Linked DNA regions of Homo sapiens: regions 2, 3, 4, 5, 6 and 7 are each linked to region 1. The links are contacts of gene promoters, found by promoter capture Hi-C in blood cells and fetal thymus (Javierre and others, 2016). All regions are on one chromosome and are shown on one strand. Each heading gives the region's core, a stretch centred on a gene start or on the middle of the fragment in contact. The rest is flanking DNA. Distances are from core to core; before and after follow the strand shown. Region 1 holds the start of TOPORS (TOP1 binding arginine/serine rich protein, E3 ubiquitin ligase). Region 2 overlaps NOL6 (nucleolar protein 6). Region 3 overlaps NFX1 (nuclear transcription factor, X-box binding 1). Region 4 holds the start of NFX1 (nuclear transcription factor, X-box binding 1). Region 5 holds the start of SPINK4 (serine peptidase inhibitor Kazal type 4). Region 6 has its middle 19 kb from the start of SPINK4. Region 7 overlaps B4GALT1 (beta-1,4-galactosyltransferase 1).

Evidence for each region. Contacts are between HindIII fragments. The CHiCAGO score rates a contact against its expected background, and 5 or more counts as called.
Region 2: a fragment that was not itself captured here is called in contact with the fragment with the promoter of TOPORS in region 1 in 1 of 17 cell types (neutrophils); the score reaches 6.3 in neutrophils.
Region 3: a contact is called between a fragment that was not itself captured here and the fragment with the promoter of TOPORS in region 1, in 1 of 17 cell types (neutrophils). The highest score is 9.5, in neutrophils.
Region 4: a contact is called between the fragment with the promoter of NFX1 here and the fragment with the promoter of TOPORS in region 1, in 1 of 17 cell types (neutrophils). The highest score is 6.0, in neutrophils.
Region 5: a fragment that was not itself captured here is called in contact with the fragment with the promoter of TOPORS in region 1 in 1 of 17 cell types (neutrophils); the score reaches 6.8 in neutrophils.
Region 6: a contact is called between a fragment that was not itself captured here and the fragment with the promoter of TOPORS in region 1, in 1 of 17 cell types (neutrophils). The highest score is 6.8, in neutrophils.
Region 7: a fragment that was not itself captured here is called in contact with the fragment with the promoter of TOPORS in region 1 in 1 of 17 cell types (neutrophils); the score reaches 6.3 in neutrophils.

The regions. Positions count from the first base shown.
Region 1 is chr9:32,550,825-32,554,928 of GRCh38, reverse strand. TOPORS (TOP1 binding arginine/serine rich protein, E3 ubiquitin ligase) reads left to right here and starts at 2,343. Exons shown (of 3, transcript NM_005802.5): 1 at 2,343-2,495; 2 at 3,961-4,104. The coding sequence starts at 2,493. SMIM27 (small integral membrane protein 27) reads right to left here and starts at 2,602. Exons shown (of 2, transcript NM_001387564.1): 1 at 2,450-2,602; 2 at 1,922-2,128. The coding sequence starts at 2,494. The coding sequence ends at 2,006. It overlaps NDUFB6 (NADH:ubiquinone oxidoreductase subunit B6), which reads left to right. Exons shown (of 4, transcript NM_002493.5): 4 at 985-1,928. The coding sequence ends at 1,053. RefSeq lists enhancers at 1,855-2,568, 2,373-2,702, 2,713-2,922, 2,569-3,283 and a silencer at 3,563-3,782. The HindIII fragment of the contact is 29,085 bases long and covers 1,777-4,104 here.
Region 2 is chr9:33,468,137-33,472,240 of GRCh38, reverse strand. It overlaps NOL6 (nucleolar protein 6), which reads left to right. Exons shown (of 26, transcript NM_022917.5): 2 at 1-35; 3 at 121-237; 4 at 2,050-2,229; 5 at 2,574-2,742; 6 at 2,900-3,034; 7 at 3,120-3,283; 8 at 3,369-3,489; 9 at 3,675-3,733; 10 at 3,819-3,920; 11 at 4,096-4,104. Among named protein-coding and RNA genes, the nearest start is that of MIR6851, 2.3 kb to the right of the region's middle. The HindIII fragment of the contact is 4,549 bases long and covers 368-4,104 here.
Region 3 is chr9:33,305,056-33,309,159 of GRCh38, reverse strand. NFX1 (nuclear transcription factor, X-box binding 1) reads right to left here. Exons shown (of 24, transcript NM_002504.6): 5 at 1,861-1,966. Among named protein-coding and RNA genes, the nearest start is that of NFX1, 17 kb to the right of the region's middle. The HindIII fragment of the contact is 4,959 bases long and covers 1-4,104 here.
Region 4 is chr9:33,288,175-33,292,278 of GRCh38, reverse strand. It overlaps NFX1 (nuclear transcription factor, X-box binding 1), which reads right to left and starts at 1,763. Exons shown (of 24, transcript NM_002504.6): 1 at 1,682-1,763. The coding sequence starts at 1,706. It also overlaps the pseudogene LOC100862682. RefSeq lists enhancers at 1,488-1,537, 519-1,718, 1,688-1,737, 1,748-2,167, 2,873-3,834. The HindIII fragment of the contact is 6,050 bases long and covers 1-4,104 here.
Region 5 is chr9:33,236,772-33,240,875 of GRCh38, reverse strand. It overlaps SPINK4 (serine peptidase inhibitor Kazal type 4), which reads right to left and starts at 709. Exons shown (of 4, transcript NM_014471.3): 1 at 607-709. The coding sequence starts at 667. The HindIII fragment of the contact is 4,489 bases long and covers 1-4,104 here.
Region 6 is chr9:33,218,755-33,222,858 of GRCh38, reverse strand. No RefSeq gene overlaps it. Among named protein-coding and RNA genes, the nearest start is that of SPINK4, 19 kb to the left of the region's middle. The HindIII fragment of the contact is 3,336 bases long and covers 111-3,446 here.
Region 7 is chr9:33,150,611-33,154,714 of GRCh38, reverse strand. All of the region lies in intron 1 of B4GALT1 (beta-1,4-galactosyltransferase 1), which reads left to right. Among named protein-coding and RNA genes, the nearest start is that of B4GALT1-AS1, 14 kb to the left of the region's middle. RefSeq lists an enhancer at 895-1,014. The HindIII fragment of the contact is 1,639 bases long and covers 1,249-2,887 here.

The sequences.
Region 1 (4,104 bases), core at 1,094-3,593:
TCCCAGCTACTTCTTCTAGAACCTCAAGTTCATTAGGCAGTCAGCTTCCAAGTTATAGGAGATATTTTGCTAAATAGTTTGCCACTGCCTTTTGTTTCCATCTTTATCTTTGCTACCAGACTGCTAAGCCAGTGCCCTATAGCTTGATTTTTATTACAGCAGCATTAGTGCCACTTCAAGGCAATGATTTCTATTGGGATAATGCTAGCTGTACTAACAAATTGTTGCCCAAATGTATAATGGCATAAACATATTTATTTTTTCATTGGACTATAATCCTGAGCAGTACCAGGTCAGGGAATGGCAGGGATTGGGGTGGGTATGGGGACAATTCTACTCTTCCCAGTCATTCAGGGACTGGCAGGCTAACAGAATCTATCTTAAACACATGGCTGAAACTGAAATTGAATAATCTGTCTTAAAACTATACAGCTTGTCAGTGGAGGTTCCAAGATTCTTACCACTTGGTTCTGGCTTCAATGCCCATGCCTTTTTGCCCACATCTATATCAAGAATTGAAAAGACATCTGGACCAGCTGCCTAGCCAAAGTTTGTATTCTGTATTCAGTATGTAAGCCAATCAGAAAACTGGTGATTGCGTAACACATTCAGTTGCTGGGGGTACATTACCTCCTTATCTGGAACTGCAGATGTTTCCTTGCAACTTCTTTCTGGGGCCTCCATTTATTGGGGTCATACAAAATAAAAGATTATCCCTTTATCACTTAGAGAACACAATTTTCGTGCCCTTTTTGATTATTTTGTTTCTGAGTGAAAATTTCCCTATTATTTCACTATACCTTAAAATTTTGAATACTGATTGTTCAGATTTAGTCAGCTTCTACTTTGTCTAGGGTCCTTTTAAAGGGAATGCCAGAACTCAAGTACATTTTCCATGTGAGATCTGATGAACATAGAACAGAATAGAACTATCACCTCTGTAGACTTAAGATTTTTGTACTAACTGTATCTTTGTTTTCCTAGGGTGATACAATTCTGGAGACTGGAGAAGTAATTCCACCAATGAAAGAATTTCCTGATCAACATCATTAAAGATTATGTAAAAAGTTAAAAGGCTTATGAGCCTAAGTTTGTTCCTATATTACCATATTTACTGAATTTTCTGGAAAAGTAACTTTAATAAAGTTTAATCTCAGAAATTGTCATATCTGTTTTCAAGCATTGTACAATTTGAGACTGAGTAATTTAACAATAAGTAAAAAGTGGACATGCTAAACAAATATGAGAGACTACCTACTTTTTCTGGTCATTCTTGACTTGGAAAACGGTATGGAAAAGTATTTAGTTACATGTTTGTTTGTTTTTTTCTTACACAGTACTTACACTAATTTGGTATCAGGGTATGCAACAGTGAAATATCACAATAAACAAATGTAAGAACAGCAATTCCATGCACTTTTGTTTTAAGGAAATCTTTCCGGCCAGGCGCAGTGGCTCATGCCTGTAATCCCAGCACTTTGGGAGGCCGAGGCGGGCAGATCACGAAGTCAGGAGATCGAGACCATCATGGCTAACACAGTGAAACCCCGTCCCTACTAAAAATACAAAAAAATTAGCCGGGCGTGGTGGCGGGCTCCTGTAGTCCCAGCTACTGCGGAGGCTGAGGCACGAGATTGGTGTGAACCCAGAAGGCGGAGCTTGCAGTAAGCCGAGATAGTGCCACTGAGCCTGGGCGACAGAGCAAGACTCCGTCTCAAAAAAAAAAAAAGCTTTCCGAATCATTTTTGAAGAATTTAGAAACTTGATTGAAAAGCTTATTCCAACTATGATCTGACACTCAAGACTGTCAGATTTAGGTTGCTGTTAATTTTGTCATGAGAATGTAAAATACTAAAATCTCTAAGTGAAAAATTTGCATACTAGTGCTTGTTATAAAGGATAATGCAAAAATAAACTTGGGAACTTTGCATTATGAATTTTATTTTTATATCTACATAAGCATGAGGGAAAGAACTGTATTTTCAGATAATTAAATCCAGAAGAGTTACAAATTTTCATTCGTCCCAAAGATTTTGTCTGGGTATTTCTTCCTTAGCTGTCGTCTTGCAGACACCATCGAAGCATAGATGATGCAGCCCCAGGAGATTAAAACGATGGCAAGCAGCAACTAAACCAAAAATCGCAAAGGAGGTGTGAAATCTACCTGATATTTCCCCTCGCCCCCGTCAGGTTACCGTTGCCATTGCTAAGGTGGGAATTAAAGTAACAAAGTCGAATAAATGGGGTTCCAGTGGCGGGTACACCCAGCAGCCCTTACGTAAGAAGCGGAAGATCGTATCCTCCAGGAAGAGGCGGAGTCGAGGTGAGGGAGTGAAATGCTTAATTCAGGAATGGATTTTGGAGTTTCTGGGTGCTGAAGAAATAGGGCCTTTCCGCCTGCGGGCCCAGTGAGTCGACACGGTGGGGGCCCGCGATCCCCGGGACTTACCACTGAATAAATCCAGTCCAGCGTGCGACGACTTACTGGCTTCATGGTAAGGAGGCGGCAGCAGTCCGCGGGAGCTGGCGGGAGCTGCGGGCCTTACAGTAACCTCCCAGGCGGTGGCTGCCAGGCGCCAGCAGCCATCTTTTAGCCGGGCACGAGCGCCCGCCCACTCGCTTCGTGCAGCGCTGTCGCTGGCCTCTTCCGCCCGGAGTTGGGGGGCGGTATCACGTGATCGGGGGCCTTGCCCGCCTTTTAGAGAGGGGAATAAACGAGAAAATGTTAAAAATTGCTTTTTTTTTTTTTTTTTTGCCAACTAAGGAGATAGGCGTACCTCCACTGGTTTTCTTTCTAGTTGCAATGCAATATTAATGCAGGATAAGGTGCTGTCGTGTCCATTTAAAAGTTAATTTGAAAAACAATCCACGTTTTAAATATTACGTCTGGCTCTAAAGCTGGAAGAATTAACGCTTTCTCCCCCGCTCCCTCCCCCACGCCTCCCCGCATCTGATACCACACGATTTAGATGGACGTTCGCCTGTTCATCTTTGACGTAAAAATACCACCCACTCTTTTATATGTGACAAATCGTTGTGGGAACCCCTGTAAATCGAGCCATTCTTCAGAAACGTATAGCGTAATGTATATCTCTAAGAAGAAATACGTGGGACGCGTTACCCGCCATAATGTATCAGTCAAGCAACAAGTGTTTGTTGAGCGTGTCTGATGTTCTTGAACTGCCGCGCGTGAGATACTAAGCCCCGAGCACGGCAGTTTGGTGGGCGAGCGTACCAGGTTCAGCTCTAGAATGTTTGGGGCGCTCACATTTGAGGCCTGAGGAGTAGAATCTGGCAACGGGCCGCTTAGGCTCTAGACGTTCTTTATACCTCGCAGTTATCTTAAAAGAGTTTTAGTCTAGATTTCAGGGAGTGGGAAGGGGAAGAGCGGAGAAAAACGTGGTCTGTTTAGGGAGGAGTCCAGGCCCTGTTTTGTTAGGTTGTCCTGTTTCTCCCCAGCCTGGAGGGGATCCCTCTCTGAAGACTTTATAGGATACTGGTTGGGCTCTGGTTTGGGATCCCGTTGGACTCCTGGTGTTGCTTCCGGGAGGCGTACAACAGGAGGTGAGAGACTTCAAGTCCATCTAACAATTCCCCTATCTAGACACTAAAGATAATTTCCTAAGTTTCCGCAGAGTTTGGTAAGGTTGAAACGACATCGAACTAGTTCTCGTGTTTTCCGGGTAAGTTAGGGGCGAACATTCAGTCAGTGTCCCCAGTGGCTGAGTACCAGTAACAAGATGGGGAGGGTCGCGCTGCCCTCCTCCGGGGTCTGGAGCGGCGGGGGAGGGGCCGCATTTGGGCCGGTGCGCTGAGCCCCGCCCCCGAGGCCGGCGTCCATCTGCTGCGCATGCGTGAGGAAGGCGGGTGTTGTGTTTTGATGCGCGGGAGCTGGGGGGTGGGTCTCGCTCTCTGCCCTGCTTCCGAGCTGCCATTGGTGATGAGCCCTTTGCGTCACAGGGGTCGCAGCCGCCGCTGGGGTCTCCGCTGTCTCGCGAGGAGGGTGAAGCGCCCCCGCCTGCTCCCGCTTCGGAGGGTAGGCGGAGAAGTCGCCGGGTACGCCTTCGCGGATCCTGCCGACACCGACCTAGCTTTCTGGGCTGC
Region 2 (4,104 bases), core at 1,393-3,892, 920 kb before region 1:
AGATCTTGTTCCACTCCAGCTTGCTTCGTTTACAGGTACTGTTGAGTGTCTGCAGCTTTTGTTCGAGGTGTGTACCTGGGACCCTGAGGCTGATGGACTGTCTTCTACCCTCTCTTACAGGTAGAGGAGCTACTAAAGGAAGTAAGGCTGTCAGAGAAGAAGAAGGATCGGATTGATGCCTTCCTACGGGAGGTCAACCAGCGGGTTGTGAGGGTGCCCTCAGTCCCTGAGACAGAGGTAAGCAAGTGGCCTGGGGAACTGGGAAGCCCAAGAGAGACCTCCAGTGGGGGTATATCAAACAGGGGCCTTGCTGTTACTCTGTTTAAGGGTTGGGGTGCAGGGAGCTCATTCTCACAGCAAGGAAGCTTAGCTGGGAGCGTGGTCATTTGTGTATTCATTCAGCAAGTACTTCCATGCCTTGCAGTATTTGTGTTCTTAGGATATATCAGTAAATAATAGCCTATGCTGTAATGCTGAGGTTATAGTTAATAGATAAGCATAACAGGTAAACTCTATGGCAATGTTAGAATGTGGTAAACACTGGAAAAAGGAAAAAGTAGGACGAGCAATGTAAGGGGATTGGGAGTATTAGAGGATGGGAGTGGTTTACAAGTTTAAAGGGGGTGTTCACAAAGTAGGCCTTATTGAAGTGACATTTGTGTAAAGACTTGAAGTAGGTGAGTCAGCTATATAGATATCTAAGGGAATAAAAGCATTCCAGGAAGGGGGAACAGCCAGTACAAAGGCACAAAGGCAGGAATGTTCCAGTTACATTCCTTGGAATGAATGAGGAATACAGAAGGAGATGAGTTCAGAAAGGTGATGGGGAAAAGTAGCATATCATGCAGGGCATTGTGTCCCGAAGTAGGGACTTTGGCTGTTGCTCTGGGTGAGATGGGGAGCCACTGCTGGATTTTATTTTGCAGAACAGTGATGCCCTCTAACTTTTAAAAGTTCACGTTTTTGTTTTTGTTTTTGAGACGAAGTCTCGCTCTTGTCCTCCACACTGGAGTGCAATGGCGCGATCTCAGTTCACTGCAGCCTCCACCTCTCGGGTTCAAGCTATTCTCCTGCCTCAGCCTCCCGAGTAGCTGGGATTATCACACCCGGCTAATTTTTTTGGTATTTTTAGTAGAGAGGGGGTTTCACCATGTTGGCCAGGTTAGTTTTGAACTCCTGACCTCAGGTAATTTGCTCTCCTTGGCCTTCCAAAGTGCTGGGATTACAGGTGTGAGCCACCGTGCCCAGCCTAAAACGTTCACTTTTCCAGCCTTAAAAAGTTTAGTTTTAGAAAAATTTACTCCGGCTGTTGTGTCAAAAGTAGAATCGAGAGGGACAATGATGAGATTAGAGAGACCAGTTAGGAACTAGTCTAGGCACTGAGAAATGGTGGCTCCTCAAACTAGGGAGGAAAGTAGTGAAGTGATCCATTTCTTTCTTTTTTTTTTTTTTTTTTAAATCTTTTCCTCTCTCTGTTTTAAAAAAGTTTTCTTTTTAGAGAAGTGATCCATTTCTGAATACATTTTGGTAGTAAAATGGGTATTCTTTTTTTTTTTGAGACAGAGTCTTGCTCTGTTCCCCAGGCTGTAGTGCAGTGGTGCGATCTCGGCTCACTGCATGCTCCGCCTTCCGGGTTCACGCCATTCTTCTGCCTCAGCCTCCCCAGCAGCTGGGACTACAGGCGCACGCCGCCATGCCCGGCTAATTATTTTTGTAGAGACGGGGTTTCACCGTGTTAGCCAGGATGGTCTCGATCTTCTGACCTCGTGATCCGCCCACCTCGGCCTCCCAAAGTGCTGGGATTACAGGCGTGAGCCACCACGCCCGGCTCGTAAAATGGGTATTCTTAACAGAGCTAAGTTAAGGTGATTTAAGTGGTTTTGGCTTGAGCAACTCATATGGAGTTGTCTTAGCAAGGAAGACATAGTTATGGGAAGATTGGGAGTTTGGTTTCAAACATATCGATGTGTTAAAATGTCTTCTAGACATAAAGGGTACATGTGAGGAAGGCAGTTGAATCAGTATGTGTCCCTGTCTCTGCCCCCACAGCTCACTGACCAGGCATGGCTCCCAGCTGGGGTTCGAGTGCCCCTCCACCAAGTGCCCTATGCCGTGAAGGGCTGTTTCCGCTTCCTGCCCCCAGCCCAGGTTACTGTTGTGGGCAGCTACCTTCTGGGCACCTGCATCCGACCAGACATCAATGTGGATGTGGCACTGACCATGCCCAGGGTAAGGTCCAGGGTTTAGGGGATAGAGGCCCACCACCTGACTACCTACAAATCCTGGATCCCTCTTTCTTATCTGCCGCTTGCCAGGGGATTGAAGTCAGAATTCTAAATCAGAAGAGCAGACCATTGCAGGCATCCTGAAGGCAGCTTAGATCCCTCGGGCCAGTTGCTGTCCTTTTGGAGCTTTGCTCTCCAGATATGAGAACTGGGCCTAGTGTTGCTAACCGTGGCTCAGGCACTTCTGTCAGCAGAGGAGCCCTGGCTCTCTCACCTTGGTTTCACCTTGGCCCACAGCTCCACAAGCACTTATGTGCCTGGCCTTCTCTTCTCCCCTGGCCCCTCCAGGAAATCCTACAGGACAAGGACGGGCTGAACCAGCGCTACTTCCGCAAGCGTGCCCTCTACCTGGCCCACTTGGCTCACCACCTGGCCCAGGACCCCCTCTTTGGCAGTGTTTGCTTCTCCTACACAAATGGCTGCCACCTGAAACCCTCACTGTTGCTGCGGCCGCGTGGTGAGAGGCACACATTGGGCTGAGGGCATAGCATGGGATGGTAAATCTGGAGGAGAAGGCACAGAGGCACGGAGGCCTCAAGTATGGGGGGACAGGATGGGGAGCCCTCTGGCTCCAAGGGCTCCTGCAGAGTCTCAGCACTCACTGTCTCTGGCAGGAAAGGATGAGCGCCTGGTCACTGTACGTCTGCATCCGTGCCCTCCACCTGACTTCTTCCGCCCGTGCCGCTTGCTGCCAACCAAGAACAATGTGCGCTCTGCCTGGTACCGAGGGCAGAGTCCTGCAGGGGATGGTGAGCAGGCCCTGGTGTTGAGGTGGAGCTGGAGGGAAGAGGTGTGGGGACTTTTCCTCTCATGGCTTCCCTTTTCATCCCACAGGTAGCCCAGAGCCTCCTACCCCCCGCTATAACACATGGGTCCTGCAAGATACAGTTCTCGAGTCCCATTTGCAGCTGCTGTCAACCATTCTGAGTTCAGCCCAGGGCCTGAAGGATGGCGTGGCACTTCTGAAGGTCTGGCTGCGGCAGCGGGAGCTGGACAAGGTGAGTTGGGGGTGGCGCAGCCTCCCTACCTGAGCGCCTGTGTGATGGGCAGGCTCTGACCTCAGCCTCTCCCTGTCTCTTTCAGGGCCAGGGTGGGTTTACTGGGTTCCTTGTCTCCATGCTGGTTGTCTTCCTTGTGTCTACACGCAAGATCCATACCACCATGAGTGGCTACCAGGTCCTGAGAAGTGTCTTGCAGTTTCTGGGTGAGGCAACTAGGTGGGGAAAGGCCAGGGGCTCCACTCCTCCTGGGAATCCTCTCATCCCAGTAGCAGTCTTTTGGTGTTTTGCCATCAGACAGATGAGCAAACTGAATCGGCTGAGGGAGGGTGTCATTAGGGCTGGGTCCCCAGAAGGGGATACCTTCTAATACACTTGTGATTCACTTCAGCCACTACAGACCTGACAGTCAACGGGATCAGTTTATGTCTCAGCTCAGATCCCTCTTTGGTGAGTTGGGGAAGGGCCAGGTCTATGCCAGGAGGCCTGCAAGTAAGGTGCCAATCCTGACCTGCTTCTCTCTACACCCCCCAAGCCGGCCCTGGCTGACTTCCACCAGGCCTTCTCCGTTGTCTTCCTGGATTCCTCAGGCCATCTCAACCTCTGTGCTGATGTCACTGCCTCTACTTACCACCAGGTACCAATGGGCCCCCAATCTGTGTTCCCCTGATGTCTCAGCCCAGACTCTGTCCCTTTTGCAAGTACCAGAACCCCAGAAACTCCTCTTCAAAGAGTTAAGTTTAGGGCATGTCTCCTGGTCTAAGCCCTTGGATCAATGAAGGGCACAGGGATGGTCCCTTCTGTGGCTCCAGGTACAGCAT
Region 3 (4,104 bases), core at 791-3,290, 750 kb before region 1:
GGTCTCGATCTCCTGGCCTCGTGATCCACCCGCCTTGGCCTCCCAAAGTGCTGGGATTACAGGCATGAGCCACCGCGCCCAGCCAGGATTAACTTCTTATTACTGAATTTACTGAAAATGACAACTAATGGCAAGAATAGCTTAACTCCTTCCTAAGGAAGGACCTATGCGAGCAGTCAAAGGGAATGAGGTATCTGACTGCCCAGCAGATCACAGGCCATGCTGTCTAGCCCAGTTTAAAACAGCTCTACCCCCACTGACATTTCCCCAGCGCCACCACCATGCCTTGATCACAAGGCCCTGGTCCAATATTATCCCTCCTCCAAGCAGTAGAAATACCAAGATAACACTCTGATGTCTGGTTTACTCTTAGATTTGGGTAGTAAAAGTAAGAATTGTCATTTTTTGATCACTTGCCAGAAAGACTCTATATCGAGCCGCATAGATGCACTAATTCATTTAATTTTCATAGAACCCTATAAGTGTTATTATTACTATCATTATTATTTTACAGATGCAGGCTTAGATAAATTAATAACTTGTCCAAGGTTACATAACTATTTAAGTAACTTGAACCTAAGATTTAAACCTTTGTCTGAGGTTAAGGCCTGTAGAAATTTATTTGTAACTGATCAACTGTTTTTCTATTACTGTGCATTTTTTGGTATTTAGAAGCTGACTGCATACAGTCTACTTATTTATTTATTTATTATTTTTAGAGACATGGTCTTGCTTTGTTGCCCAGGCTGGAGTGCAATAGTGCAATCACAGCTCACTGCAGCCGTGAACTCCTGGACTCAAATGATCCTCCTTGCTCAGCCTCCCAAGTAGCTGGGACTACAGGTGTGTGCCACCACAGCTGGCTAATTTTAAATTTTTTTGTAGAGACGGGGTCTCATTTTGTTGCCTAGTCTGGTCTAGAACTCCTGGCCTCAAGCAATCCTCCTGCCTTGGCTTCCCAACGTGTTGGGATTATAGGCATGAGCCACCGTGTCTGGCTTATGGATATAATCTACAGCTGGCTATTTATTGTAGGGAAAAGACTGACATCCTATGGCTGGGTGTGGTGGCTCACACCAGTAATCCTGGCATGTTGGGAGGCTGAGGAGAGCAGATTGCTTGAGCCCAGGAGTTCGAGACCAACCTGGGCAACACGGCAAAACCCCATTTCTACCAAAACATACAAAAATTAGCCAGGCGTGGTGGCACACGCCTGTAGTCCCAGCTACTCAGGAGGATGAGGTGGGAGGATGGCTTGAGCACAAGAGGCGGCGGTTGCAGTGAGCTGTGATCACACCACCACACTCACACTCCAGCCTGGGTGACAAAGCGAGACCCTGTCTCAAAAAAAAAAAAAAAAAAAAAGAAAGAAAGAAAGAAAAAGATTGACATCTTGACATCTTGGAAATACTGTCCGACCGGGACCCTAAACAATTGTCTTTCCCCAGACAGAAGGTTCTCCCATACATTCTCTTGGACCTGGATATCAATGCGGGATAAAACATATGAGTCACATTTCTTCTTAGAAGCAAGCAGTGTAATGTAATGGAAGCAGCACTGGCTTTGGAAACCCTAGCTCCACCATCCACGCCCTGCCACTGTGATGCTGGGCAAGAGGCTTGGCCTTTCTGAGCCTCATCTGTAAAGCAGAGATGGTAAATATCTATTACTGGGCTGTGGTAAGGATTCAACAAGTTAACTGATGTAGAGTGCCTGGCACAGGGTGATTTGAGACCATTTACTGAGGTCCCATATCACCCTTCATCCCAAACCATTACATGCTAACCAGGTATGTTTACTTAGAGCCACCAGCAAAGCATGTCCACCAGCAATCCCAACGGAATTAGCATTCCAACTTACAGGTTACAGGAATGTGGGCAGTCCTGGCCAGGCTGTTTCTTTCTACAAACCTCACCACAGCTATGTGGAATTTCATTTCTGCTCCACTCAGGATTCTTTACCTTGCCTAGAACATATCAGATCAGAGAGTCAATGGTACAAACTTCAACCACATTCTCAACTTTAATGAAACAGTAAAGTATAGCTAGGCAGCATGCAACTTTAGTGTGGTTTTTATTATTTCAACAAATGTATTATCCCATATCTTAAAATAAAAAGATAAATATAATGCTATTCATAAAAAGTTTCACTGAGTATGATAAATCTTAAATCTTGGATTACCTGGGAAAGATAAATAAAAAGTCACTTTTACTTACGAAAATACTATCTTGACTAATGGAAACGTTTAATTTAAGATAAATACCTATAAGACAAGTCGTCTATAACTGGACTTCTGAACTGATATGCGAATTGCTGCTGGAAGGATCAGAGAGAGGGAATAAGAGAAGAGCACCGTGGGGAAAGGGGGGAGGCAGTAAGAAATGGAAAGGACATAAATCCCGAGTAGCAGGAACTCACCTATTCCAGAACTATAAAGTCGGCATAAAAGACCTTATACTTTTATAATCAATGTCACTGCAAATCTTCATGGCACATCTTCCATGGACTCAGCAGAGACAGGGAAGAGTAAAACGAAGGCACAGGATTCCTCCTTGCCCTTGAGGAATTCATCCTCACTTGGGCAATTTGCACACTAAATTGCAGCCATCCCCAGTCCATGGCCTCTGCTTTTCTCTCTATACTATCTCTTTCAGAAATTTTATTCATGTTGAGAGGTGCAATCCACCTAAAGGCCATTGATCCCCAAATCCACATTTTCTCTCTTGCCCTGAATCTTCAGTTTCAGACCCATATGTCCAAATGTCTGCTGAACATTCTTGCTTGGGGTTTCACAGTCACCTCAAACTGGCTTTATCCACAGTCAAAGTTCACATCTTCCCTCTATAACTCCTCCCTTTTCAGGGTTTCCTATTTCTGTCAGTGACGTCAACTCTGTCAGAGTCACACACGCTCAAAAACTACAGTCATCTCTGACACCTCTTTCTACTTAATCACCAAGTTGTGTCAATTTTTCCTACAAAGTGGCTCTCACCTCATCGCTCTCCTGTTCCTGCCTCTCTAACTGGCCAAAACCTCATCTCCAGACTATCACAAAAGCCTCCCTGCCTCTGTGCTTTTTTGCTCCAATACAGTGCCCTGGTTTTCCTCTAACATCTCTCAAGAGCTCTACCTTTTGTCCCTGACTCCAAATGATGTTTTGGGGTTTTTTGCTTTTCTTTCCCCTGCAAGTGTTCTGCATTACACCCTTTTCTCACTCTGTACCCTTTCATCCGCTAGGGTCTTAACTACTCCTCTCAGCTGTGATTCTCATCCTTAAGTCCTGGTCTTTCCTCAAATATTGCTACCTGCCTGTTGGACATATTTCACTGTATGTTCTGCTCACTCCTCCAGCTCAACATTTCTAAACTGTAGTCACTGTCCCCACCAGACCTTCTTCTTTTGACCTGCCCTTTTCCTTGGTATCACCATTTCCAAAAGCATGAAACTTTGGGTGACTCCCATTCCTACTACTGTCAGGAATCAACCTAACACCATATTTTTCTATCACACTCCTTAGAGGCTTGTACTACTCTTCATCTGGATTATAAGTCCCAAATTATTTAGGCTCCAAAATACTCTACTCACTGCTACCAAACTAATCTCCATAAAGAATCATGTTGATGCCCTCAGTGGCTTCCCACAGCCTTCCAAATGAAGTCCCAACATCTGAGACTGGTATCAAAGGGTCAGCCCTTCCTTTCCAGTCATCTCCCACTCCCCTACCATCATAGATCCTGGGCTCTGTAAGTGGATGAATCACTCTTCTCCCAATATACCCTAAACCCTGTTGATTTTGAACTGCCTATGCTATTCCCTTCAACATATCTTTCTGCCTACAAAGATTTTACCTAGTTTACAATGCCAGTTCAATTCTACCTCCTCCAAGAAGGCTTCTCTTAATCATCCAGCTGTAAGTCGTAACTACCCCAAAGATCTCCCATAGTACTTTGTACTTCTAGCAGAGTATCAGGCTAATTGTGTTTTAACTCTTAGACTGTAAGCTCTGGTAAGTTAACCGTTTTATTCGCCTCTGTTTCTTCACAGTGCCTTGAACATTAATAAGTTCTCAATAAAAACATGTTAAATTAATGGTCCCCTGGAAGA
Region 4 (4,104 bases), core at 514-3,013, 740 kb before region 1:
GAATGGGAACTAAAGCAAAATCAAACTAAAGCACATGAAAAGGAGTAAGGAGGTCTTTGGACTAGAAGATTTTGCCTCATTAGATACTTTCTGGGTTGGAGGTAATAACTTGGGCACAACACCAAAGTTCAACACGAAGACTCACAACTAGGCCCCACCGAATTCTTCTTCAAACACTGAAGGGTACAGAAATGAGTCAGAAACGAGCCTGTGGATGAGACGATCAATAGATCCAGTTTAGAGAATCTGGTGAAGGACTAGGTGAGGAGAATAACAAAATACCCAGCCCAAAAAGTTTTCCAACCCCAAGGAAGACTTAATATCCACATCAAGACTAGGGTACACCAATGCAGTGTGTTTTCCAACTTTTTTTTTTGAGACGAAGTCACACTCTGTCGCCCAGGCTGGAGTGCAGTGGCACGATCTTGGCTCACTGCAACTTCCGCCTCCAGGGTTCAAGCAATTCTCTTGCCTCAGCCTCCGGAGTAGCTGGGACTACAGGCGCGTGCCACCATGCCCAGCTAATTTTTTGTATTTTTAGTAGAGACGGGGTTTCACCGTGTTAGCCAGGATGGTCTCGATCTCCTGACCTCGTGATCCGTCCACCTCGGCCTCCCAAAGTGCTAGGATTACAGGCGTGAGCCACCACGCCCGGCCCTAACTTTTTAAACTAAGAACCATAGTAATAAATACATTTTACCTGCCACCCAGTATACAAATACATATATGGTCTTCTTGGTGCCCCAACGGCTGGTCAGGGACAGAGCTGAGATTCAAACCAATGGTTTCCAAACTCCATTCTGCAAACTGCTGCCCTGTTTTCCAGAGTGGGCCATAAAATCAAATGAAGGCAGTGGGCTGTGACATATTTTTAAACGAAACAGAAAACAGAATATATTGCTGATTGTAAAACAAACCAACCAACCTCACTGCTTCCAGAAACTTCTGGTTCGCTTTTATATTTATGTAAGTGTACAATATTTAAGGTCGCGATGCAAAATGTTTCTTTTGGTTGCTGTCCAACACATTTGGAAAACACTGATCTATGGAACACCCTGAGGAAATGGATGTTATATCAACGAACAAATGAGGCTGTCTCTACACACTGAGGCAACTCCAGGAGGGGGAGTGAGTGAACAATTACAGAATAGGTACAGTACAGGGCGGGAGCCATCACAGGAATTAACTTATCTACTCCCAACTGACAGATGAGGAGACTGAGACTGAGTCACACGGGGTTCGCAGCAGGCTGAGACTCTAAACTACTGGAATTCGGCTCGCGCCCACGCCACCACTCCAGGCGGTATGAGCACACCACACCCTACACGTCAAGAGCCCGCCACCGTCACTGGCTGTGACCTGGCCGACGCCCGCCTGTCGAAGGTCAGTGCGCCGCTGCCCCAGAAACAGCCTGTGGGAAGGCAGGGCACCCACATCGACTCGCAGCGCCGGGACAAGTCCTCTCTCCTCCGAAACCCAGCTACTGGGCTTCACCATCTAGTCCAAGAAGACACAGATCTTCGTACGCACGATGCGCGGGGCTTGGCCCTTCCGAGCCACTATCCTACGCCCTAGCATGTGCTACTCTCGCGATATGAGTGGCTGAGGCCCTAGAACTTCGTCACTGACCCAATTTCCGCTCCCTGAAAGGGGCCCAGTCCCGCTCGGGCCGGGACAATACCTGAGACAGGAGGCGCCTCCGCCATCCCGTGCCGCAGAACCTAGATCGAGCTGTACAGCCAAGTCAGCACTGTCACCAGGTCACGTGCCCCGGACTTCCGGCGCCGCGAGAATATTCGCATCTGCGCGCCGTGTAGACGGCCACAGAGGTTGCGCAGCCCGAATCTGTGTGGCGCGTTCGTGACGTCAGATAGACGCGCCAGGTGTCGGGCGGGAGGAGGAGACTAGTAGCTGGATGGAAATAGCAACAATCGCAGGAGGGAGGGCGGCGACTTGCGTAATCATTGTGGTTTTCCTTTTTTTATTTTTTGATATAGGGTCTTGCTGCCTTACCCAGGCTTGAGTGCAGTGGTCTGATCATGGCTCACTATAGCTTCAGTCTCTAATCCTCCCGCCTCAGCCTTCCGGTAGCTGGAACTACAGGCGGAGCCACCATGCGCAGCTATTTTTAGTAGAGACGGGTTTCGCCATGTTGCCCAGGCTAGTCTCTCCAACTCCTGGCCTCAAGCGATCCTGCCGCTTTGGCCTCCTAAAGTGCTTGGCTTACAGGCGAGCCACCACGCCTGGCTCCAGACTTTTTTTTTTTTTTTTTTTTTTACAAAGGCGTTTATTCTCATCAGTATCACCGATATTCTCATGGTTCACATTTGCCAACGCCGCTCCTCTCCTTACAGTAGTTAAATGTGCAATCTCACTTGGGGGCCCAGGGAGGGGTGGGGGCTCGGCCCAGGGTGGGGAGGGCGTTGGCACTTCACGTGGACAGGGTGGGCAGCCTGTCCTGCGTGAAAGAGGTGTGGGTGAGTGGGCGGCCAGGGAAGGGGAGTTGGCAGGGGAGGGCCCCGCAGTCTTTTTTTCTTTGGTGGTTGGTGATTCTCCATTCAGATTCCTTCCTGGCTTCCCAGGGTAGGGGAACCATGCAGCTCAGGGCAGGGCAGGGGAGGAAGAGAAGGAAAAAGCAGCAGGCCGCCCGGGGGGAAAGGTGGAGGGTGAACGGCAGGGCAAGGGGGAACGGGTGGCTCCTGAGGTAAGGCACAACCCTGTCTTTGGCTTTCCTGGTGAGGAGTTTCCTCCCCTGCACCCCCTGCCCGACGCTTCTCCCCACCCCCCCACCCCCCAGACCCACACACAGTCCCAGGAGCCAGGGGGCACCACCTCCTGGGGTCCCTGAAACAAGTGGGCTCTGCCACCCAAGCCAGTGCCGCAGGGGCTCGAGGAGGGACACCCGAGGAAAAGGCAGAGAGGGGCAGGCAGGGGCCTACCCAGGACAAGGGGGTGGGGGTGAGAAGACCCTAGGCCCAGGAGCTGGGCCCCCCGCCCCAACTAAGTCCTGGAAGTGGGGGAGCACCTGCTTCCTTTCGGGGGTCTGGCTGGAGCCCCGGTCTGCCCCTTGGCCTCCGTCAGGCCCAGCCACTTGCCAAGTGACCAGGGCATTGTGCTTTGGGGTAAACGCTGGGGTGGGGTGGCAGGCCAGGAGGCAGGGGGAGAGGAGGGATGACTAAGGTGCTTGTGCTTTAGCTGGGGGTGTCGATATCCCCCACTCGGGCCGGCTGGGGGCTAAGGTGCCAGGCCCCGGCCAGGAAGACAGTGCCAAGACCCCAGCAGACCGTGGCACTGACCCCCACAACAAGCAGATGTTAAGAGGGACCCCCAGTGGGCCAGCGGGGCTGCTGGTCCCATCAGGGGGATGGTCTTCAAATCAGATTACAAGGGTCCAGTAGGGGCTGGCCCCCACCCCATCTCCTGAAATCCCCCTGCCCCTGGAGAGACCCCTGGGAGCAGTAGGTAGGCGGGGGTTGGGGAGGCAGAGGAGAGGCAGGGAGGACGAGGGCCAGAAACGCAAACAAGGATGTGGATGGTGAAATGACACCCCGCATAGGGGGATGGGGAGTTAAAAAAGAAAAAAAACTCTCTGCCTTCACATGAAAATCTAAAACAACAACAAAAAACCACCCACTCTGGGCGAGAACAAAAAGAGAGGAATGGTAACAGAGAAAATTCTGCAAACAACTGCTAACAATGGAAGTGGACCCGGCCCTGCCCTGCCCTGCCCTGCCCAGCCCCCAGGAGCTGGGCCCAGCCAACCAGCCAAGGCCTGGGACACCCTGAAACTATAGCCCTGTTGGGGAAGGTGGACAGGGGAGGGGGAACCCGGTCGGACCCACAGGAGCCTAGGCAGCAGCTGGGACTGGAGTCCTACACCCACACTCCACACACACCCACACCCACACACACACACACACACACACTCAGCCTGCCCCCCAGCCCCCCAACACCACCCTGCCTTCCAAGGCCCCCCCACCCCTGGGGACCGAGGGGGACAACAGACACAGCCCCATTGGTTTGAAAAATAAAAGGAATCTTATCACTCTGTCGCCTAGGCTGGAGTGAAGTGGCACCATCTCGGCTCACTGCAAACTGCCTCCC
Region 5 (4,104 bases), core at 791-3,290, 690 kb before region 1:
TTTCTGTTTGGGTCACTAATCTGTCTTAAGGGCTCAGAACAGTGCCTGACATGGTAGCTGTGAGATTGCAGGGATGGCCCAGATCCTGAGAGGGCCCTGCCCCAAGTATATGTGTCCAGTCCTGGGAAAGGGCTCTGTCGTGCTCACATGGCTGCCCAAGTCCCAAACCACAGCCTTTCAGAGAGATCGGGAGCTCAGAAGACCTCGGCCAGGTCTCTCTTAGCATCCACCACCCTGCACCCAGCATACTTGTCAGTCTCTCCTGAGAGCTGGGACCTACCTGCTCCCTTCTGTCCCCACAGCCTCCAGCCCAATAGTTGCTCAGTGCAGCTTTGAACTGGAACAATGCCCTCTTTTACAGCTGGAGAAACTGAGGCCCCAAGAGGGTAGGGGACTTTGGTAATTCTGCGCCAGTCAGGATTTGAACCCAAGTTTCTTTTCTCCCAGCCCAGAACTTTCCCCAGCACAGTGGAGGGTGCATATGCAGAATGAAGGTACATGGAAAAAGCTGAGGCCTCACAGGGTGCTCCAGGCCCTGCTTCTGCTCTCACCCCAAGCTCACCTACCAACACAAAGCCACAGAGAATCCAGGTTCTGCCCACTCACCCCTGTCCACAACAAGGAGGGCAGCCAAGGCCAGGGCGATTACCCACTGGCGGACGGCCATGCTGATCCTGGGATAGTGTAGCCTGAGCTGGCTGGGGCCTGCGCCTGAGGAAGGATGGGGGCCTATTTATAGTGCCGCTCTCCTAATCTTATCTTATCTAGGGCCAGATGGAGAGACCAGAGTTAATCTTTGCACGCTGACATCCGGAAAGGGCTTGCTCTAGGTGCAGATGCTGAGCTTTTGATGAGATGGGGCTGTGGCCATGGGGCTGGCAGGTTTCCAGAGTGACAAAAAGTTTGGACAACTTGCAAAGCTGACTCCAATCTGAGGGTTGGAGCAAGGAGAGGAAAGTTGAAGTAGAAAGAGAGAGAGTTCAAGGCAGAGAGAAGGGGAAAGAGATAGAGAAAGAGAGAAAGGAAAAAAGCAACTGGAAGATGGCAGGAGGCAGAGAAGGGGGCTGGAGCCTGGATTCCTTTGCCAGTGCCTCCAGCAACCAACTCTGGGACCTCGGTAGAGCCACTTTTCTTAACTGGGCCTCAGATCACCCATGCACGAAGTGGAGATGAGACTTTTGGCTCTGCCTTTCTCCCAGGCTGCTGTGAGGATGGCGGCGGTGATAGCAGACGGGAAAACATTTTGCAGAATATGAAATGAGCTGTAAACGTAAGCAGAAATGATCATTTTTACTTACTTTTATTTCACTTATTTTTTTGTACCGCAAAGTGGGCACAACTAACAGGCAAAACAAAGGCAAAATAAAACATTAAAAGGAAGATGCCTTCTTGCTTTGCAGGTATTATGTGTTCATTTGCTTTTTTTTTTTTTGAGACAGAGTCTCACACTGTTGCCCGGGCTGGTGTGCCTGGCGCGATCTCGGCTGGCTGCAACCCCTGCCTCCTGGGTTCAAGCGATTCTCCTGCCTCAGCCTCCTGAGTAGCTAGGATTACAGGCACCTGCCACCTGCCCAGCTAACTTTTTGTATTTTTAGTAGAGACGGGGTTTCACTATGTTGGCCAGGCTGATCTCGAACTCCTGACCTCGTGATCTGCCTGCCTCGGCCTCCCAAAGTGCTGGGATTATAGGCATGAGTCACTGCACGCGGCCTCATCTGTATCTTCATAGGTTAAATAAAGACAAGATTCTTTTAAAGAAAAATCAGTTTCTAAAACTCCCCCATACTTACATAGTATACATTAATAAGTCATTTGGATATTTGCTCTCAAAGAATTTCTGATATATAAAATACATTTTATTTACATACACGTTTCTCTAATTCATTTAGATCAGTGTTTTTCAGCTCTGTCTGCAGATTGGATTTCCCTGGGGGAGAATTTACAAATACAGATGCTGAGCTTCGCTCTGAAATATTTAAATCAGAATCTGTGTTTTTTTTTTTTAAAGAAAAACTTTATTTCGAAAGATTTCAAGCCTGCAGATAAGTTGCAAGAATATTCCAATGACAAGGCGAAGGATTCTTGTTTGAGGACAGCCCCAGCCAGGTGCGGTGGCTCATGCCTGTAATCCTAACACTTGGGAGGCTGAGGCAGGAGGATTGCTTGAGCCCAGAAATTAGAGACCAGCCTGGGCAATATAGCAAGACCCCAACTCTAAAAAAAAATTTTTTTTTTAATTAAAAAAAGAACAGTCCCTTTGGGGACACCAGCCATCCAGTCACCTCTACAGACCCATAGAAGCCCCAGACCTGTGGCCAAGACTAGCTTGAGGCCCCCAGTGATCCTTGACTCAGCTTCAAGATCCTTCCGTTCCTCCTTAGGAAACTGCACAGTCCCAGGGATGCCTCTGAGGCAGGTGGCAGCTATCTTTCCATTGCTTAGGCAGGTAGAGAAAATATTTAATGATGACTTCCTGTCCTAAAGCAAAAACGCCATCTTATAAAAGGGGAATTGGACTTTAAAGGTCATCTTGGGGCCAGGCACCATGGCTCACACCTGTAATCCCAGCACTTTGGGAGGAGGCTGAGGCGGGTGCATTCACTTGAGGTCAGGAGTTCGAGACCAGCCCTGGTCAACATGGTGACACCCATCTCTACCAAAAATACAAAAAATTAGCCAGGCGTGGTGGCGCATACCTGTAATCCCAGCTACTCAGGAGGCTGAGGCAGGAGAATTGCTTGAACCTGGGAGGTGGAGGGTGCAGTGAGCCAAGGTTGTGCCACTGCATTCCAGCCTGGTGACAGAGCGAGAAACTGCCTAAATAAATAAATAAATAAATAAATAAATAAAAATAGGCTTGGTGTGGTGGCTCACGCCTGTAATCCTAGCACTTTGGGAGGCCAAGCTGCATGGATCACCTGAGGTCAGGAGTTCGAGACCAGGCTGGCTGACATGGTGAAACCCCATCTCTACTAAAAATACACACACACACACACACACACACACACACACACACAAATTAGCTGGGTGTGGTGGCGTGTGCCTGTAATCTCAGTTACTTGGGAGGCTGAGGGAGGAGAATTACTTGAACTAGGGAGGCGGAGGTTGAAGTGAGCCGAGATTGCGCCACTGCACTCCAGCCTGGGTGATGGAGCCAGACGGTCTCAAAATAAATAAATAGATACATAAATAAATAAAATAATAAAATAAAAAATAATGGTCATCTGGGTTTCATCTCCCTTCTTCCACTAGGGCTTTCCTACAGCAGCCCCACTGGGAGGTCATTCATGGTGATGGGGAGCTCACTACCTACCAGTTTCGTTGTTGGATGGCTTCGAACAAAGACAGTCCTTCCTCACACAAGAGGTCTGCCTCCCTGAGAGTCCTTGGGGCTTATAGCTTTGTCTCTGGCCTCCTGTACTTGCATGAACCTCCTGTACTTGCACAAGCACCTTTAGGCTGAGCAGGTCTGCCATCTGCCTGCCTCCTACCCTTGCACATGTGAAGCTCCTGGGCCTCTCTCCATTTCTCATCTGATCACTGACAGGTCTGTCTGTCAGTGTCCCAGGTTACAGTGAGGAAGGGACAGAGGGGAGCAAAGGGATTTGATCCCTTCCTTGTTTTGGACCTTAGATTTCTATCCACGTGGCAGAAATGGCTACTGAACATTCTAGTTGCTGCAAGGAGCCAGGACGCTTGAATTTTGCATCCTTCAAAGTACAGAGTAAAGTCAAGGGCAGCCTGTGGAGTACTGAGCTCACTTACCATCCCAGCCCACCCCAAGGTCTCCTCTTCAGACAAATACCTTCTAGATTCACTCATAGTAACAAACTTCGTAATCTGTCATCCCATCAAAGTGTGAACCTAGCTCCTATATCCGACTGCTATTGAACAGCCCATTAAGGATGTCAGTGCATCCAAGAAAACCTCACCATTAATTCACCATTCATGTATTCAGTAAAAGTTTAACAAGCGGCTAAGTGCCATGCTCCATGCTGAGTGCTTGGATATGGCAGAGAGTGAGTCAGATACAGTTCCTGTCCTCCAGGAGCTTTGGTTAAGTAGAGGCACAGTACTGAACGGGCAGCAGCATTGTATCATCAC
Region 6 (4,104 bases), core at 529-3,028, 670 kb before region 1:
TCTCTCTCTGGGACACTGGCACTGACCACTAGTTTATTAAAGGCTGTGAGAAGCTTTTCAGGAGTCTATTTTTCATCCAGCATTTCTTGGATTAAGTGATTACAAAAGCTTCCCACTTCCCCCACCACATTTAACAAATATCTGTTAACATCCCTCTGAATTGGTGTCAGAATTGGTGTCCCAGGGAACACGGTTTAGGAAATGTCTTAAATATTAACAACCTTCCAGCCTGGCCAACATGGGGAAATCCCGTCTCTACTAAAAATACAAAAAAATTAGCCAGGCATGGTGGTGCGTGCCTGTAGTCCCAGCTACTCAGGAGGCTGAGGCAGAAGAATTGCTTGAACCTGGGAGGCGGAGGTTGCAGTGAGCTGAGATTGTGCCACTGTACTACAGCCTGGGTGACACAGTGACACTCCATCTCAAAATATATATGTACATATTAATAACCTATACCTTTTGCAAATCACCTTCAAATGCCATTAATTTGTTCATTAATTTGCTCAAACAAACTGCTGAGCATCCTCCATGCTAGGGAGTACGGCTACAAAGACTACGTGTCCCAGTAGCCCCCAGACTAGTCAGGGAGCAGATGTGGGCAGACTGTGCTGGCACCTGGGACAACGGCTGAGCCAGGTGTTCAGGAAATGATGGATGAAGTGATTAATTCTGACATCAGCACTCTGATAATCTTCACAGAACAAGCAAGACCTCATCTGAGCCTAGAAATAAGCCTGGGTCCCTTCCATCTTTGCAGTATCAGGAGCTTGTTAGAAATGCAGAATGTCCTGACCTAGAACTCCCAAATCAGGACTTAGGCTGTGGCAAGATCCCTGGGTGATCCTTATGCGCATTCACGTTTGAGAGGCGCTGACTTAAAATAGCGGGCTTTCTGACAAGAATGTAAACAGAACCAAAATATACTTCTGTGTGGGGTATTGGTCAAAGGCTGACCTAGTGGGCTCCATACTAGGCCAGGCAGACAGAATACAAAGATAGGGTATAGAAAGACTGGTAGTGGCAACAAGTGAAGTGTCTTCTCTCCTGTCCTGGCCCTCACCTAACAAGGACTGTGATTCAGCAGGTTAGACTGCAGATATGCAGTGTGGAGGGAGCAAGGACAGGCAACGAGGCCACCCCTGTGGTCCCTTCTGCCTAGATGTCTGCCGTGACTGGCTCAGTGTAATGGGTATGGCTCGGAGGAAGGGAGCAGGGCATGAGGGAAGGATGCTTCCCATTACCCTCATCTAGAGACACCACCTCTGCTGTGGACCAGGTAAGTGACAGGCCACAGGGGCTCGGAGCCCAGGGCTCTGTGTGAAGAATTTTTGGCCTCTTCCTCTTCCTCTTGATCTTCAACACTGGTCACAAGAGGAAGCGCAGGGAGGGTTCAGGGCAGCCTGACCCTTCAGGAAGCAGACACATTTAGGGCCAGTGTGCCTGGAGGGTTCAGGGCGGCCTGACCTATCAGGAAGCACACACAATACCCTTGCCTGGGACTGGACCTGGGCCCAGACCTGGGCCCTGCTGGCCTCGGTGAGACTGTGGGCAGGTTGGGCCTTGGGAAGGGACCTTGGGAAGGGGCCTTGGTGAGGACCTAAGAGAAGCCCCTTCTCACAGACTTGGGCCTGTGATGGGTAGAGAGTGGCTAGCCCAGGTGGGGAGTAACTACGAGGGAAGGAAACTGAAAACCGCAACATCAATAACCACAGCACAACAAAACTAAATATAAAGAGATCCCAACACCCACCTGACAGCAGTTTCCCTGCCCCTGCCTCTGGAAGACGGTCTGTGTGCGAAGCATCCCCCAGCAGGGACCATATGTGTGTGCCCTCCAGAGTCCAGAGAAGGTGAGGTGAGCTCCCAATGCCCAGGATCATCAGGATGTAGACTTCTTGCTATTCTACCTAAACAAATAAATCAGACAGGAATCTCGCTAGTAGAGATGGCATTTCACATAGAGGGGAGGGCCCAAGGAAAGGCCCAAAGGCAGGACCACACTCATCCGGATAGGAAGACAAATGTCAACGTATACGTCTCTCTCCTATCCTGATTGAGCTGGCACTACTGTGTTTTCCAGTCTGAGGACACCAGTCACAACCTGTGCATATCACGGTGATAGAGTCACGTGGTTGCTCCTCAAGAACTGGGCTAGTTTGGACTCAACTTGTCTTCCAGCAGCCCACTGCACAGTGGCCCAACCTGGCCTCAGCTGGAAGACTAAGTACTCCCCATATCTCTACAACAGTTGCTCAGGACAATTCAGCTGGATCCACTGAAGCAGTCCCACTCCTAGAGGCAGCCCTCATCAGAAGGGTCTCTGCCTCCTGCTTTCTGAAGGGTTAACTCCAAGAGTCAACCAGGCCAAGGCATATCTGGAGACAGATTCCTTGGTTGGGACTTGCCAGGGTCAGTCTCATTTGTTTCTGATAACGTGAGCATAACATAATGTGTGTGTTTTCTTAAAAAACAACATAAGGCTAGGTGTGGTGGCTCAGGCCTGTAATCCCAGCACTTTTGGAGGCTGAGGTGGATGGATCACTTGAGGCCAGGAGTTTGAGACAAGCCTGACCAATGTGGTGAAACCCCGTCTCTACTAAAAATACAAAAATTAGCTGGGCGTGGTGGTGTGCACCTGTAATGCCAGCTACTCAGGAGACTGAGGCAGGAGAATTGCTTGAACCCGGGAGGTGGAGGTGGCAGTGAGCCGAGATCTCACCACTGCACTCCAGCCAGGGTGACAGAGTGAGACCCTGCCTCAAAAAGAAAAAAAAATAAAGCAAAAATAAAAAACAAAATAAGCAGGTTGGTGTTCCATGTAAGTCTGAAAGTCTGAATCTGCTAAGGAGTGTGTAACAATTGACCTGCCAAAAAAAAAAAAAAAACCGGAAAGGAAAAAGAGGCTGGGCATAGTGGCTCACACTTGTAATCACTTTGGGAGGCTGAAGTGTGCGGATCGCTTGAGCCCAAGAGTTTGCCACCAGCCTGGGCAATATAGGGAGACCCATCTCTACAAAATATATTTTAAAAAATTAGCCACATGTATTGGCATGCACCTGTGGTCCCAACTACTTGGGAGGCTAAGTTGGGAGGATTGTTTGAGTCTGGGAGGTCGAGGCTGCAGTGAGCTGTTATCACACCACTGCACTCCAGCCTGGGCAACAGAACAAGACCCTCTCTCATTAAAAAAAATGGAAGAAAAGAAAAATTATAATTACGAAAGTAATTCATGTTCATTACAGAAAAATTAGAAAATACAGAAAAATATAAGGAAAAAAATCCTGCCCCTAATTCCACCATCTAAAGGCATCTCTTTATACATTTTGGTGAATTTCTTACAAGTTTTTTTCCTACGCATATTTGTGTACATATTTAACATAGTTGACAGATCATAATGACCATACGTTTCATGCCCTACTTTTTCACTTAGCAGTACGTTATAAGCTTTTACTCATTAACGTTTGCTGTAATCATAATTAAATATTCCATCCTATAATCCTCTAAATTAGTTAGTCACATCCCTGAGAGTGGTGACAGATTTATATCACACTTCGACTAAGAATGTGCAGAGAAACTGTGATTTCTATATTCTTTCTCCCTAACTGATGTAGTCTTCTTCACAATGTCCCACCCACTGGTTAATAGGGAAAAATGACAACGGGCCTAACTAAAGAAAAATCTGAAGCAATAACCTAAATAGCCTGTATTTAAGGCTTTTGTTTTTCTTTTTTATTTTTATTTGTATTTTTTTAGATGGAGTCTCACTCTATCGCCCAGGCTGGAGTGCAGTGGCACGATCTCGGCTTACTGCAACCTCTGCCTCCAGGGTTTAAGCGATTCTCCTGCTTCAGCTTCCTGAGGAGCTGGGACTACAGTGCCTGCCACCACACCCTGCTAAGTTTTTGTATTTTTAGTAGAGACGGGGTTTCACCATGTTGGTCAGGCTGGTCTCGAACTCCTGACCTTGTGATCTGCCCGCCTCAGCCTCCCAAAGTGCTGGGATTACAGGCTTGAGCCACCACGCCTGGCAAAGGCTTTTGTTTTTCTATGTAATCCAATTTTGTATGTCAGAAGCCTCAGTATTTCTCTTCGTATTTTTTCTGT
Region 7 (4,104 bases), core at 819-3,318, 600 kb before region 1:
CTAAACAGGAAATCAAAAGTCAAGATGAATAGATAAGTTGGTCAGTGTGAAAAAGTAATTGGTGGGAGCCACTGTAGATGCAGGGTTCTAGGCTCCATCAACAACCACCTACATCACTGAACGAAAGATAATGCTTGTTCAGCACTTATTACATGCCAACCATGGTAAAAATACTTCAGATGCATTGTTTTCATGAACTCTCACAGCAGCTCTTTTTCTTGCCTAAATGCCCCGTTAGAACCTCCAGTACAATGTTAAATAGATATGCTAAGAGACAACATATGTGTCTTGTTAGGGGGAAAATATCCAGTCTTTGACTATTAAGAATGGTGTTAGCAGTGGGTTTTTCCTAGGTGCCCTTTATCAGGTTGAGGAAGTTCCTTTCTATTCCTGGTTTGTTGAGTATTTTTATCATGAAAAGGTGATGGGTTTTGTCAAATGCTTTTCTGTGTCTGTTGAGATGATCATGTTTTTTTGTCATTTATTCTATTGATATGGTATATTATACATTGATTTTTCAGATATTAATCTTGCATACCTGGGATAAATCCCACTTGGTCATGGTGTATAATTCTTTTTATTTGTTGCTGGATTGAGTTTGCTAGTATTTTGTTGATTTGTATTCATAACAGATAGTGGTCTGTAGTCTTTCCCTCCCTCCCTCCCTCCCTCCCTCCCTCCCTTCCTTCCTTCCTCTCTCTCTCTCTCTCTCCCCTCCCCTCCCTTCTTTTCCCCTCCTCTCCCCTCCCCTTCCCTTTCTTCTCTTTCATAGTTGTTTACCACTGTCAGAAAAGGTCTGTTCGTTTTCTTTCGTCGTGAGATCTTTGTTTGGTTTTGGTATCAGGGTAATACTGCCTCAAAAAATGAGTAGGGAAGTGTTCCTTCCTCTTCTGTATTTTGAGAGAGTTTGTGGTCGGTTTTTATTAATTCTTCTTTAAATATCTGGTAGCGTTCACCAGTAAAGCCATCTGGGCCTGATGTTTTCTTTGTGGAAAACTTTTTGATTCCTAATTCAGTTTCTGGTTATAGGTCTATTCAGACCTTCTATTTTTTCTTAAGTCAGTTTTGATAGTTTGTGTCTTCCAAGGAGTTTGCTTCATCTAAGTCATCTAATTTGTTGGCATACATTTCATAGTGATTCCTTATGATCCTTTTTATTTCCGTTAAAGTTGGTGTAGGGATAGTCCCTCTTTCATTACTGATTATAATAATTTGAATTTTCTTTTTTTCTTAGTCTTGCCAAAAGCTTGTCATTTTTATTGATCTTTTCAGAGGACCAACTTTGAGTTCATTATTTGTTCTCTTTGTTCTTATTTTTCTGCTTCATTAACTTCTCTAATCTTTATTCTTTCATTCTGCTTGCTTTTGGTTAAGTTTGCTTTTTCTGGTGTCTTAAGGTAGAAGGTTAGGTTACTGATTTGAGATTTAAAGATCATGCTCTTTAAACGTTTTGATAGATACTGTCAGTTTGCCCTCTGGCTTTTTCTCATTAACAGTGTATAGGAGTGCTTATTCCTCACACTCATACCAGCCCTGGGTGTTACTAACCTTTATATATTTGCCAGTATCATATTCAGACATAGTATCTTGTTTTAATATGTTTCTCTGATTACTGATGAAGTTAAGCAAATTTTCACGTGTTTATTGGCCATCTGTCTTTCTTTTTTCATCCTTTCTTTCAAGATGGGAGTCTTTGCCATGTTGCCCAGGCTGGACTCGAACTCCTGGGCTCAAATGATCTTCCTGCCTCAGCCTCCTGAGTAGCTGGGACTATAGGCGTGAGCCACCATGGCTGGCTTGCCCATTTGTATTTCTTATGTGAGTATTTTTTCTTTTTTTTTGAAGTGGAGTCTCACTCCATCCCCCAGAGTGGAGTGCAGTTGTCCGATCTTGGCTCACTGCAACCACCGCCTCCCAGGTTCAAGTGATTCTCACACCTTAGCCTCCCAAGTATCTGGGACTATAGGTGTGTGCCACCACACCTGGCTAATATTTGTATTTTTAGCAGAGATGGGGTTTCACCATGTTGGCCAGGCTGGTTTCAAACTGGCCTCAAGTGATTCACCTGCCTCGGCCTCCCAAAGTGCTGGGATTACAGGTGTGAGCCACTGTGCCCAGCTGACTTTTTTTTTCTTTTTTTTAACCCTTTTTTTTTTTTACCCTTTTTTTGGCCCATTTTTTTTTACCCTTTTTCTTTTAACCCATTTTTCTATTAGTTTTAAAAATATGTTTGCAGGAGCTTTTTATATTGTGGATTTTTCTTGTTTATTACATATCATTTGTAAATATGGTCTCTCCATCTGTCACTCTTCTTTATCTCTGGTTTCTTTAGCTATGTAGAAGTTGTTATGTTATGTTATGTTATGTTATGTTATGTTATGTTATGTTATGTTATGTTATGTTATTTTTTGGAGAGGGAGTCTTGCTCTGTCGCCCAGGCTGGAGTGCAGTGGTGAAATCTCGGCTCACTGCAACCTCTGCCTCCTGGGTTCAAGCGATTCTCCTGCCTCAGCTTCCCGAGAAGCTGTGATTACAGGCACCCGCCACCACACCCAGCTAATTTTTGTGTTTTAGTAGAGACGGGGTTTCACTATGTAGGTCAAGCTGATCTCAAACTCCTGATCTCAAATGATCCTCCCAAAGTGCTGGGGTTACAGGCGTGAGCCACTGCACTCGGCCAGAAGTTTTGAATTTTTATGTGTTTAAATCTATGTTTTCCTTTATGACTTCAGGTTGCTTTCATACTTAAGCAGGTCTTCACCATCCCAAAATGATAAAATTTTTCTCCTGAGTTTTCTTCTAAGTTGGTTCTTTAGAAGCCACCAACTTGGCTTCGACAGCAAAAGATGAACAGAATTTCTGTTCAACTCTCATGCTGCAAGAAGCTTTATGTAATACTCCAGGGACCCTTTAAGGTCCCAGAGTTTTCCTCCAAATCTATCAGTGATTCTAGTGGCTAAGAGTAGAAATGTGAAAATTTAGCCATGTGTGCTGATAGAGCTGTAGTAATTTGTAAGCTCTGAAGTTCTAAGGAGTCAGGGGAGAAGGGAAAGTAACATTTATTGAACATCTATTAGCTCAATAAGAACATGCGATAAGTATGTATATGTATTATTTCACTTACATCTGAAAGGAAGGCATAATTATCCCCACTCCTTAGAGAAGGAAATTGGAGCTGGCTACATTTAAAGTAGTCCTGACACCAGAGAGATATTGCCAGGAGTACTTGGCTGGCTGAGTGCCCAGATGGCCCATAGGAGTAGTGGGCCCTCCACAGTCCAAGGTCTGGTTCTAGGTGGAGAGAGAAGGATGTGCTCGTAGTCAGCACCGCAGCTCCAGAAAATCTGCTGGGGCTCCAAAACTGATTAGAGGGGCAGCTGACTCAGTAATAAAACTCCCAGGAGACTTACTTACATACTGGAATGCAAAGTTGCAGCTTTACTGGGAAGATTAGAACTGTTATTGAGTAGCTTAGAAATCTCTGGCTGAATTCACTGCAAGGGAAGCCGCAGGATAAGCTAACTGCTGGTGAGTCAGCAGTCAGAGCAGGGAAGTGAATTTAACATTAGATGGGTCAGTCTCTCGTGGCTGATGAATTCATCCCCACAATACTGTACACCTGCCTTAGGGACCTTTGTCTGGACTAGGGGTTGGGGTCCCCCTCCTTTGTACAGCCCTGGAAGGACACATCCAGCTCCATCCGCCATCTCTCCCTTACTTATTTCCTTCCTTCCTTCCTTCTTTCCATCCAGCCATCAAGCTTCCTTTCATGGCCAATAATCATCATTGGGGTCTACTCATGGACTCTCTTGCCTCATGTATTTGTTTTATTTTGTCCTCATTCCCACTTCTATTTCCCAGGTATATCACAGGCAACTATTCTAACGTATTTATAGTTTGTGTATCTGTTTTTGCTCTTGCCAAAATGGAAGCCACTGCTTTATACATAGATGTATTCTTAACTTTAAAAAAAATTTTTTTAGATTAACCTACAATAAAATTGGCTTTTTGGCATATAGTCTATAAATTTTAACACATACATATTTTTGTGTATCTACCACCACAATCAGGATACAGAACAGTTCCATCACCCCAAAAAAATCC